Linked DNA regions of Homo sapiens: region 2 is linked to region 1. The links are contacts of gene promoters, found by promoter capture Hi-C in blood cells and fetal thymus (Javierre and others, 2016). All regions are on one chromosome and are shown on one strand. The core of a region is centred on a gene start or on the middle of the fragment in contact, and the rest is flanking DNA. Distances in the headings are between cores, read along the strand shown.

Evidence for each region. Contacts are between HindIII fragments. The CHiCAGO score rates a contact against its expected background, and 5 or more counts as called.
Region 2: a fragment that was not itself captured here is called in contact with the fragment with the promoter of ACSL4 in region 1 in 1 of 17 cell types (activated CD4 T cells); the score reaches 5.2 in activated CD4 T cells.

Annotation. Positions count from the first base shown.
Region 1 is chrX:109,730,772-109,735,772 of GRCh38, reverse strand. ACSL4 (acyl-CoA synthetase long chain family member 4) reads left to right here and starts at 2,516. Exons shown (of 16, transcript NM_001318510.2): 1 at 2,516-2,634. LOC105373311 (a long non-coding RNA gene) reads right to left here and starts at 3,262. Exons shown (of 1, transcript NR_158569.1): 1 at 815-3,262. RefSeq lists silencers at 2,254-2,563, 2,661-2,781 and enhancers at 2,904-3,043, 3,104-3,153. The HindIII fragment of the contact is 5,191 bases long and covers 1-4,158 here.
Region 2 is chrX:110,285,704-110,290,704 of GRCh38, reverse strand. The region is part of intron 1 of AMMECR1 (AMMECR nuclear protein 1); the gene reads left to right. Among named protein-coding and RNA genes, the nearest start is that of AMMECR1, 30 kb to the left of the region's middle. The HindIII fragment of the contact is 6,097 bases long and covers 1-5,001 here.

The DNA.
Region 1 (5,001 bases), core at 1,267-3,766:
TTCTCATGCTTTTAGTACTTATTACATTGCATTTTGAATCTGTCAATTGCATTGTACATTTTCCTAACTCTTCCATTTCCATACGTTTATCTACTCCATTTCTAATTGGGTTGGTAGTTCTGGGTAGGACTCATTACAGAGGCAGCTTAATGTAGCGGCAAGCACCCTGGTCTAGGAGTCATAAGCAGTGTAGTAGGAAATTCAGGCTCTGTTACTACTTAGTTGTGTGACTGGACAAGACACTTAACCTGCATCTATTTCTTCATCTGTGAAATAGGGATAATAATACCCTATCTTCCTAACTAATAAACAACGTTGCAAATGTTCTCTTTAAAATGTCAGACAGCTGCTTGGGAAATATTTTGCTCCTGGGCAGTAATTTCTGGAAGGTTTCTGATGACAAGAAATTAAGCAAGGTTTGTTTTGACTCCGAAAAAGGAAAGCTGGAAATAGCGTGGTTATACTTGGTTTCCTTTTTGGAGGTATAGTTCTTCTTTCCTCTTCAACTTGGGTGCAGTTAAATGTGGAAGAAGGTGAGATGTGGTAGGTGATGAAGACAGCCAGAACTGTACACACTAATGAATAGCTTAAGTAATAAGAGATCTTGAAAATCCAAGTAGTTTCTTGGTCTGATAAACATATCTATATGTATATCATACACACATTTGTATACCAAAAAACGGATAGTTTCAGGCTATAGTGATTTCTTTCCTTTATATCTTGTAGAGCTGGAGGAACTTCAGTAAGCTGAAGACTCTGTTCAGAGGAAATTACCTAATTGAAAATGTCTGGGCTAAGAGACCGACAATAAAGGAAACTGGCAAAAGTACTCTTTAATTACAAGTTCTTTTTCATCTTCATCCAGCACACTGATTTATGTGCTACACTGGGTTTGTATTATATCTATATTTTAATTCCACAACTAGACACTAACTTTATTGAGAACAGCGATATTCATTTCTTCAATTTCATTTGTGTTAACCCAACTGTAGGTGATAGTGCTCTGTACATCATAGTTACCCAGTGAATTACGTACCTGACATATGATTGCTTATTTCTGGTATTAAAACAAGATTTCATAAAATAAACATGACAATTAAACTCGTTGTTTGAAGTACTGAACTTTGTAGGTCAATCTTGAAAAAGGAAGCTACATGACTGTCTTAGCAATATTTATAGGTATATTATATGTAAGTGGGTGGGTTTCTTGGAAATTGAATTGGTAATATGGCTTTAGAGTAGTAACACAAAAACTATAGCTCTGTGCTCTCAGCTAACCACTTTTAGTGTCACCTGGGCTGCTTATTAAAAATTCAAATTTCTTATCCCTACCCAGATCAGAATCAAAATACCTGGGGGTTGTAGCTCCAGGTACCTACATTTCAACAAGCACCCCAGATAATTGTGATGCACACTGAAGAACTACTCTAGCTTGTAATCTCAGGTGGTAAGGCATTTTATATATACATATATATATACACACACACAAGCACAAATGGTAATTCTATGGGAAAATGGAAATCAGCAAGTGAAGTGAAATGTCAATTACCATCAGGAACAGGAAGCTAGTTCACCATTACGCATCAGGGAACTGGAAGAATTCTTGAGATTTATTTTTTTGGGTGATATATTCTTGGCAGTTTATCAGGCCTCATTTGCAATTATGGTCTGTCCCTTTTGAAGCCCTCAGATAGTTCGCTGGCATTTTAATTTTAATAGCAATTTCTTGCATCTGTTGGAACAGCATTCGTATGACCGGCTTATAAGCAATGATCAGGGCTAGTAAGATGTCACAAAGCTGCGGTGACTTTTCCTTATCAGTTGGGGGTTTTTTTGCCATGATACCATCGTGGAAATGAAAGACAACGTGAAAATCCTGCGTCCTTGTGATATTTCATCAGTGGGAGTGAGCGGGGATCTTAACGCAGTAAGAGGCAAGATAAACGGATGAGAGGCATTAGTTCAGGCTTACAGGAGCAAGATGCTTTTAGTCAAAGTGTTCAAGATAGCTCTCTTAAAGAGGAGCAGTGAAACCCAAAAATGAGTGTCTTTTGAGGGCAGCTGGAAGATGACCCGAGGGGAACTTTTATCCTGGGGTGGAGTCCTGCGAAGCAAGCCGCAGGTGAGGGCGTGGGCCAATTCTGCGCCTCACTGCTGTTAGGCGCAAGGACATCCCGAAACACACTCAACGACACCAGCAGCGAGACTGACAGAAGCGGATCGCCAGCGGGAGCAACAACTTGAGGCGAGCCGTTAGCCGCCTCGCCTTCCTCGCAGCGCCCCTCCCGCGCCCCGGGAAGCCCGTTCGGCTCCGCCTTTTCGACTGACGTCCCGGGCGAGCGGGGGCGGGCGCGTGGGTGGGCCGAGCCGTCTGCAGCCAGCGATTCGGCTGGCTCTGCCACACCACCGCGCGCCCCCGCTCCGCCCGCCCCTCCGGGCGCGTCTTTTCCGGGCTCGCGCTGAGTCCCGCCTCCGCCGGCTGTCCGGGTGCGCGCGCGCCGCTGCGGCTTTTTCTCTGGCCTCCGCCGCGCGCTCCTCCTCGTCCCAGCGCTAGCGGGCACGCGGTTCCTTTTTGCGAGCTTTCCGAGTGCCAGGCGCCGGCCGGCTGCGAAGACGCGGTGGGCCGCCCCTCCGGTGAGTATCCCTGGATGGGGAGGTTGCGGCCCCGGCACCCCTGCCCTGTCGGTACCAGGGCCCCATTTCCAGAGGGGGACTGGCGTACCTCACCTGAGCCGGGAGGAGGTTGGGTGGGCATTCCAGCTCCTGGAGTCGGCTCGCTTTTTTCCTTGAGCCAGGGCTATCTATCCGCTCGCCTCCGCTGGGGCCGGGAAGATTCCCGAGGTCACTGTATCTGCTCCTGTGATGGACTCTGGGGTCCTCGGAACCCCAGCCTGCCTCTTCCTGCCGCTCACCGCATCCCGAGGGCCAGAAGTCATCTTCCTGATCGGGGTACTAGGCTTTGCCACGGCCCTTTCCGGAGGAGACCATGAAGTGCTTGCTAGACCTCCAAACGACCTTTAGGGTGCCCCTAAACCTCAACTCCATTTTGTCCCCTCCCAGTCGCTCTGTAACTGAGGGCTAGGGAGCCTCTCTAGCCCTAGAGGCATCCGCCCTCTCGAATTTGAGGGATGCCGTCGCTTCCGATATCTTCCTTGCTTCCGATATCTTCCTAGCTTCCGTAGGCTTAGGTTTGTTAGAAAACAGCTGGATCCTGGCGAAGCGTGCTTTCCTTCCTTCCCCCACCCCCGTTCTTTCTGTCTACATCCCTGCCTTCAGTGGGTGCTATATATTTAGTATGAGCTTTATTCACTTCCTCTTCCTCTCGTTTGAGTGCCTGAAAGAACTGTGGCTGATGTCTATAGACATAGAAAAATCTAGGAGAATATGATTCATTGTCTAACCCCATCAAGGGGTTACATATTTTAAATAAGACGTCATTTCTCCTCTTCACTCCAGCATCTCCTCCTTCAAAGGCATTTTTCACCCTCTTGAAATTAATACGCTCTATTCGCTCTTTTCACCTAAAAAAAGGTCAATCGTCGCTCTGAGAAACAACAGTGAGATGCAAAATAAGGGTAAAATGGCATTGAAATGAATCCCTTTGAAAAAGTAAGCGGTTTGCTTTATCAGTTAATGGTCTCATCAGCGCTTCAGTTTCCTCTTCTGCAAAAATCAGTCTGTTGAACTAGAGCATATCAAAGGTTCCTTCTAGTGTTTTGATTCTAGGACCTCTAAATTCATGCAGGCTGCATAATGCAAATTTAACCTGATTAAAGCCTTATTTCTCATAGTCGCTTGTCACCTTAGTTTTTCTTTTATTTTGTCTCTAACAAGAAAGACTTTTAAATGTTCTTGATACGTAAGGCAGCAGGTGGAGATTCAATGATGGTACTGCCATTGAGCATATCGGTCAAGATTTTAACAGTGTAAGGCCTCTTCCTTAAATTGTAAAATAGCTCATCTTTTGATTGAAACTGCTAAAGTGTAAGACATGTAAGACTCCTGTTAGAATTAACACTCTCTGCCATTTAGGTGGGGGATGAAACATTAAACTGTTAGTATACTTGTACCTTAGAATAAAGTACCTTATTGTCCTGCTATAAGAAATAATTTGACAACTAAAAATCCATGGAAGGTGTAATACAGCAATTGAAAGCTTGAGTAAATTCAATTTTGTGGGTTTTTTTTTTTTTTTGGAAAACCCCCTATTTAAAAACACAAGTGATTTAGATTAAGATATTTCTTTCAGTATTTTTGGTAGGGGTGAGATGGGTGAAGAAAGAAGAGTCTTGTTCAATTCAGACAAGAGAAATGAATTGGAACTCTGGAGAGGCTCAGGTTCTAGACCCAACTCTAGATATATATTTAACCTTGAACAAGTCACTTCACCTCTCTTAGTTTTTGCATCTGTAAAATAAGTGTCTTTATGGTTGTTGAAATGATCCACAAGTCCCCCAATTTGAATGATATATTCTTATAATGAATATATATGACAAATATATATATACACACGTGTATATATAGGTATACACACACACATATAATGCAATTTGCGTTAAGGCTGTTATAAATCCTGTTATACCAGTTGACTAGAATGTTTTTCTCAAAGGTTTGTGTATAGTGGTTTCAATTTAGGTATACTTAGTTCTTAATCCTGATTAAATAAATAATTATATGTGAAAATCTATAAACTCAGAAGCATTTTACAAATGTTGGGTATTATGTTAATTTCTGCTTGCAAGTGAAATGTGTGTTATACCGCACTATTTTTTAAATGTCCATGGCTTTTAGAAATTTATAAGGGAATGGCTGGGTGTGGTGGCTCACGCCTGTAATCCTAGCACTTTGGGAGGCCGAGGCCGGCGGATCATGAGGTCAGGAGATCGAGACCATCCTGGCTAATACGGTGGAACCCCGTCTCTACTAAAAATACAAAAAATTAGCCAGGCGTGGTGGTGGGTGACTGTAGTCCCAGCTACTTGGGAGGCTGAGGCAGAAGAA
Region 2 (5,001 bases), core at 1,315-3,814, 550 kb before region 1:
AACTTCTGTATGCCATTGATTTAGGAGGGAAATTGTCCATTTTTAACACTGGCCTTTTCATTACTGTTAAGCACCAGAAATATTTTATAAAATTTTAATAATATTAAATATTTCATTAAAACTTACATCATTGGACTCATATGTGGTACATATCAGGACTGCTACAAACACACAAGAATGGAAATGTACTTTTTAAAAAAAATGTGTTTTCTATTACATAGACGTTATACTAGCAATGTAACTAAAATTAGCAGAGTAATCATACAGCCTAATCAGCACATAAATCTTATACAAGTGACAAGTTAAAATAGATAATAGTAGTTGCAAAAGTAGCTTGAGATCAATATCGGGTGGTTATGTTTGCTTGTATATACTATTTAAGGAGGTAAGCATTGGGGAAGTTGGGCTGAATAAAACGGGGGAGGCAAGGGTGAGAAATGCTCTTTAGATCTAATGTTCACAGTGGATCATCAAGTGAGAATTGCTTTGCTAGCAACACATAAATATTTTTTCATTATAGGGGATGACTGTTACTGGGAAAGCATTGGAGTAAATATTTGTTTTCCTTGATTATTTGCTGTAAATAATTTTTTGTAACCAAATCAACAAAGTACTGTGAGTTCACTATAGGATATTACATTGTAATATAGAAGTTCCTGTTTTCCTGATGTTAACTATAATGGGTTTCTACCTGTATTCCAGGAAATAGAGCAAGTTGGGTTGATTCCAGTATGTTTTATTTTTCAGCTTCAGTGCTAAAATCAGATTGTGTGCAACTCTGAATCATGGTTCTATAAATTCTTGGCTATACTAAGTAAATTACAGTATATCTTCCAGTACAATTATAAGAATGCTGTAACATGCAGGATGTTTTCTTGAGCGTTTTCATGATTAAAGATTAATTTCTTCCTGAATTTGGCTTGATAGATTTGTATTGAAGAGCACTGTCAACTACCATTTGAGTGCCATCTGTGTATTTGACAGTATACTGTGGACTAATAGGAATTTAACGAATAAAATAGTGCATTTTTGGTTTGGCAGGATTTCTTACAGAGATAAATAGGCTGGGCACATTTGCCTTGTAGGTATGTGTGTTTATGTACATATATGTTTCATATCAACGTTGGCCTGTAAACTTCCAGTATAAATAGAATAATTTACCAACTTGTTCTTCCACTGGGACATAATGTAAGTAAACTATCTTTTCTAGCTAACTAAGCAGGTGGCTATTTCTATGACTAGTATGTTTCAAATTTTAATATACATTGATGTAATTAAATTTTGTGTGTGTCTATGAGTATAATCATCTCTCATTATCTCTGCTTCTGTGGGGGATCCTAATGTAAATAGTGTAAAATAGTAATATCCTTGCCTCCTTTTCTTGACTTTTTCCCTCATTCTGTGAACTGGCTTTATGTGCCTTCTGTACCTTGCTCCAGTGCCTTAAGTGGTCAGAAGTGGGTGACTAAAAGAGGTAGAAATTGCCACATGTGGATAATGGGGAGTTGGGTATTTATGATAATACATGGGAATGAGGGAGACATATTAATAATTTTGAAGTTAATGGACTTATTTGTTGAGGGAAGGATTCATGGACAGTTTTGAATTATGTTTCAAATATGGATTTAGAATTTTATTTAGGGGGAGAGGACTAGACATTCTAGTCAGTGAGGATCATAAACAGAGCTGAGTAAGTAGTTTTGTTTAGAGAGCTGTTGGGAAATAAGTATATTTGAGAATTCTTGAATCAAGAGAGAGAAGAGTGGAGTGGCTTAAAATTAAAGCATCTGTTTATTCATTTTGACTTGATTTTCTAACCTATGTGGGAATGCTGTAGAAGTTATATGGTTGAATAAGTGAGGGATTAGACACATTTAAATCAGAGTCATTATTGAAGAAAATATCAGAATAGTTTAGTCCAGGGTGGACTCTAGTCTACATAAGAATTAGCTGTGAGATTAGATTTGTGAGGAAAGAATAAGTACAAACAATAGTACAGGAAAGAAATGGTATAGTTTGGCATTTAACTGAATAATGTGGGTGGTGATCTAGAGGCTCATGTTAGGCTAGCATTGTTTATCCAAAAAGAAGGGCTGTACCATTTCTAATGAATTTGGAGAGCTCTGTCAGCCATACATTGATGAAGCCCTGCAGTAATGTCTATGATTTTGCTTGCAGTTATACTTTGAAGATCTCCAGTATTCTGTCAGTTTCTGAGAGCGCACAATCTGACTCTTGAAATTCTGGTAGAGCTTGTGAGGAGAAATCAAGAGAAATTGCTGAGAACCTATTATGTGGTGTGCATCCTTCTGGATGTTTTACATACCTGCTTTGCTTCCCTGTTTCTCTACCAAATCAAATCTTCTGTAAAGATATATGAGGGTGGGTAGGTGAATGGGCATCGTGCTGAGGGAGAACTCTCCACTCTTCAAAGTTTTTGCCACCTAAAAAATGCCAAAAGCCATGGTGCTACTTCAGCTCTTTGTGAGATTTCTAGCCTGCCTTCTTCCTTTACTCTTTTTGATTTATGCTATCTGATGGCTCCAAGTCACAGATACTGAGCTAAAGTCCTTTCTGCAGTCATGGTCCTCTTTCTTGCTTCCCTGAACTACCAAACTGGCTAAGTGTCTCTCCTTTGTGTCCCATAATTCCTCATTCATAGCTATTTTCTTATCATTTACTGCTGTATATTAAATTCTATTCATGTATTTCTCTCCTTCACTTATTAGAGTATAAGCTCCTGAAGAGTGAGGATGGTCTTTTTCCTTTCTTATCCCAAGTGCATGGCAAAAATAGTAGAGAAGGTGCTTAATAATGGTTTCTTGTACTAAGTTGACCCCATCAACTGCAGTTTGGCTTCTCATCTTGTTTATCCTTGTGGGATGGCCTTGTACACTGTCTAAACCATTCTCTCTATTGCGAAAGAATGGGGCAAGGAAACTTCTTAGCTTTCTTTTTAGTCTCTTTTATTCCAGCCACTCTATGCTTTGAATACCTAGTTTTGACTTGCTTCCCGGTAACAGACTAAGTCTTTCAGGGGTATGGTATTCACAACTCTACCCTGTACTAGACAGTGTCATGTAGACTAGTAACTTGGAAGATTAAGGTATAAGAAATTGTTGAGGTCGGGTATTCTGAGCATCAGTATACACACTGATTTCTTCCCCAGAATGGTGATACTCAGGAAACCAGGGAGCCCCTGGTTACATAAGGAAGTGTGAACTGCTGCAGATAGAAATTGGAACAAGACATCCTCATTACTGTAACTCTGAGGTCTAATAGATGTCCTCCCTACAACTACAACAAGGTGGTCTGTGTTTTCCAGGATTGGAGAAGAAACCAAAACAATTTGACAGTTTTTGTCAACTAGGTCTGGAGGCACTTCCCTGAAGTAAAAAGATCATCTGATTCAACGACTCCTCCTCAGTCTCAGTCACATTAGGTGACTACACCAGTTAGTGTGTCTCTGCATTTTGGTTCTATTTGAGAAAAATGTTTCTGTATGGAAAGGTAACACAATAGTAAGAGATAGTTTATCCTTCATCCCCTCTTTTGACACCCTACTCTTGAATTCTGATAGCTGGAGTTCTTTTTCTTAAACCCACTACCTTCACAAGAAGGCAAACTGTTTAAACTCACCTATCTCTCACATGATAGTAGCTGGTCTCATAATTGACAGAATCATTGGCAGTAAGACCATTATCTCTTTTAACCAGTGGTTGAAAATTCTACTTAGTTGTCTATTGGAGCTCAAGAAACTATTAACTTATGAACGTAATTTAGTATTGAAGCACCTTGTGGGCCTCCTGGCTATCAAAGATAATCAGATACCCCAAAAGGACCCTTGAACTGGTATCAAAATTCAGTAGTAACTAATGTAGGATACTAGGGATTAGCCTCATGATTTTTTTTAACTAAGGTCTCCAGATGGCCAATGAATTTATGAAACCGGAAGGAGCTGGTGGAATGGGAGGACAGAGAAGATGACGTTAAGTAACTTTGCATACATGCTCTAATTTTTTTTTTTTTTTTTGAGACAGGGTCTCACTCTGCCACCCAGGCTGGAGGGCAGTGGCACAATCACAGCTCACTGCAGCCTCAACCTCCCAGGCTCAGGTGATCCTCCCACCTGAGCCTCCCAAGTACCTAGGACTACAGGCGCACAACACCATGCCTGGCTAATTTTTGTAAATTTTTTGTAGAGACGGGTTTTTGCTATGTTGCTCAGGGTGGTCTCAAACTCATGGGCTCAAGTGATCCGGCTGCCTGGGCCTCCCAAAGTGTTAGGATTACAGGAGTGAGCCATTACGCCCGGCCCATGCTCTAATTTTTTAATGGTCATGTGCCCATTGAGCATTCATCATTCAGGTGAGTCATAACTAGAGACTGTATAAGGGTATTGTGAAACTCTATGCAGTTCTTTAGTCATGCTGGGGTTGGGTTCTTTTAAAAACAGACCATTTCCAGATAGTAACCATATATTCTGGATTTCCAGGACAGCCCTGATTTCATTTTGTCCCATTGTGTCCATAAGTATACTTATGTTCGTTAGACGTTATGCCAGTTTTTGGCTTGGAAAATATGGACATCAGGCATATAAGGACTTCCTTCTTGCCAACTGAAAACAGTTCATCACAGCATAGCCTTGCTCTTTCAACCCTGCCATCCTAACTGCCAGCAGTCTCTGATTTTGCTCCCATCTTGTATCTCCCACACTTACTTTAACCCTTTGTGAGTTAATTTATCTCTTTTCTTTGGTGTCTCCTTGCCTCTGGAGTCCAGCAAATTGTGTATCCTTATACTCTCACAAAGCTACTTGTATCCTAGCATTTTGGTAATAGGATGTACTCTTTTGAAAAATGGGACACTTTCTTTTTTCCCAGGGTGCTCTTGGGGGTTGAAAACTGTTCTGTGAGATACTCATCTTCAGAGGCCTCCGAAAACACATTCAGTAAGAAGCAGTACTACTACTACTACCATGTATTGAGTGTTTACTATGTA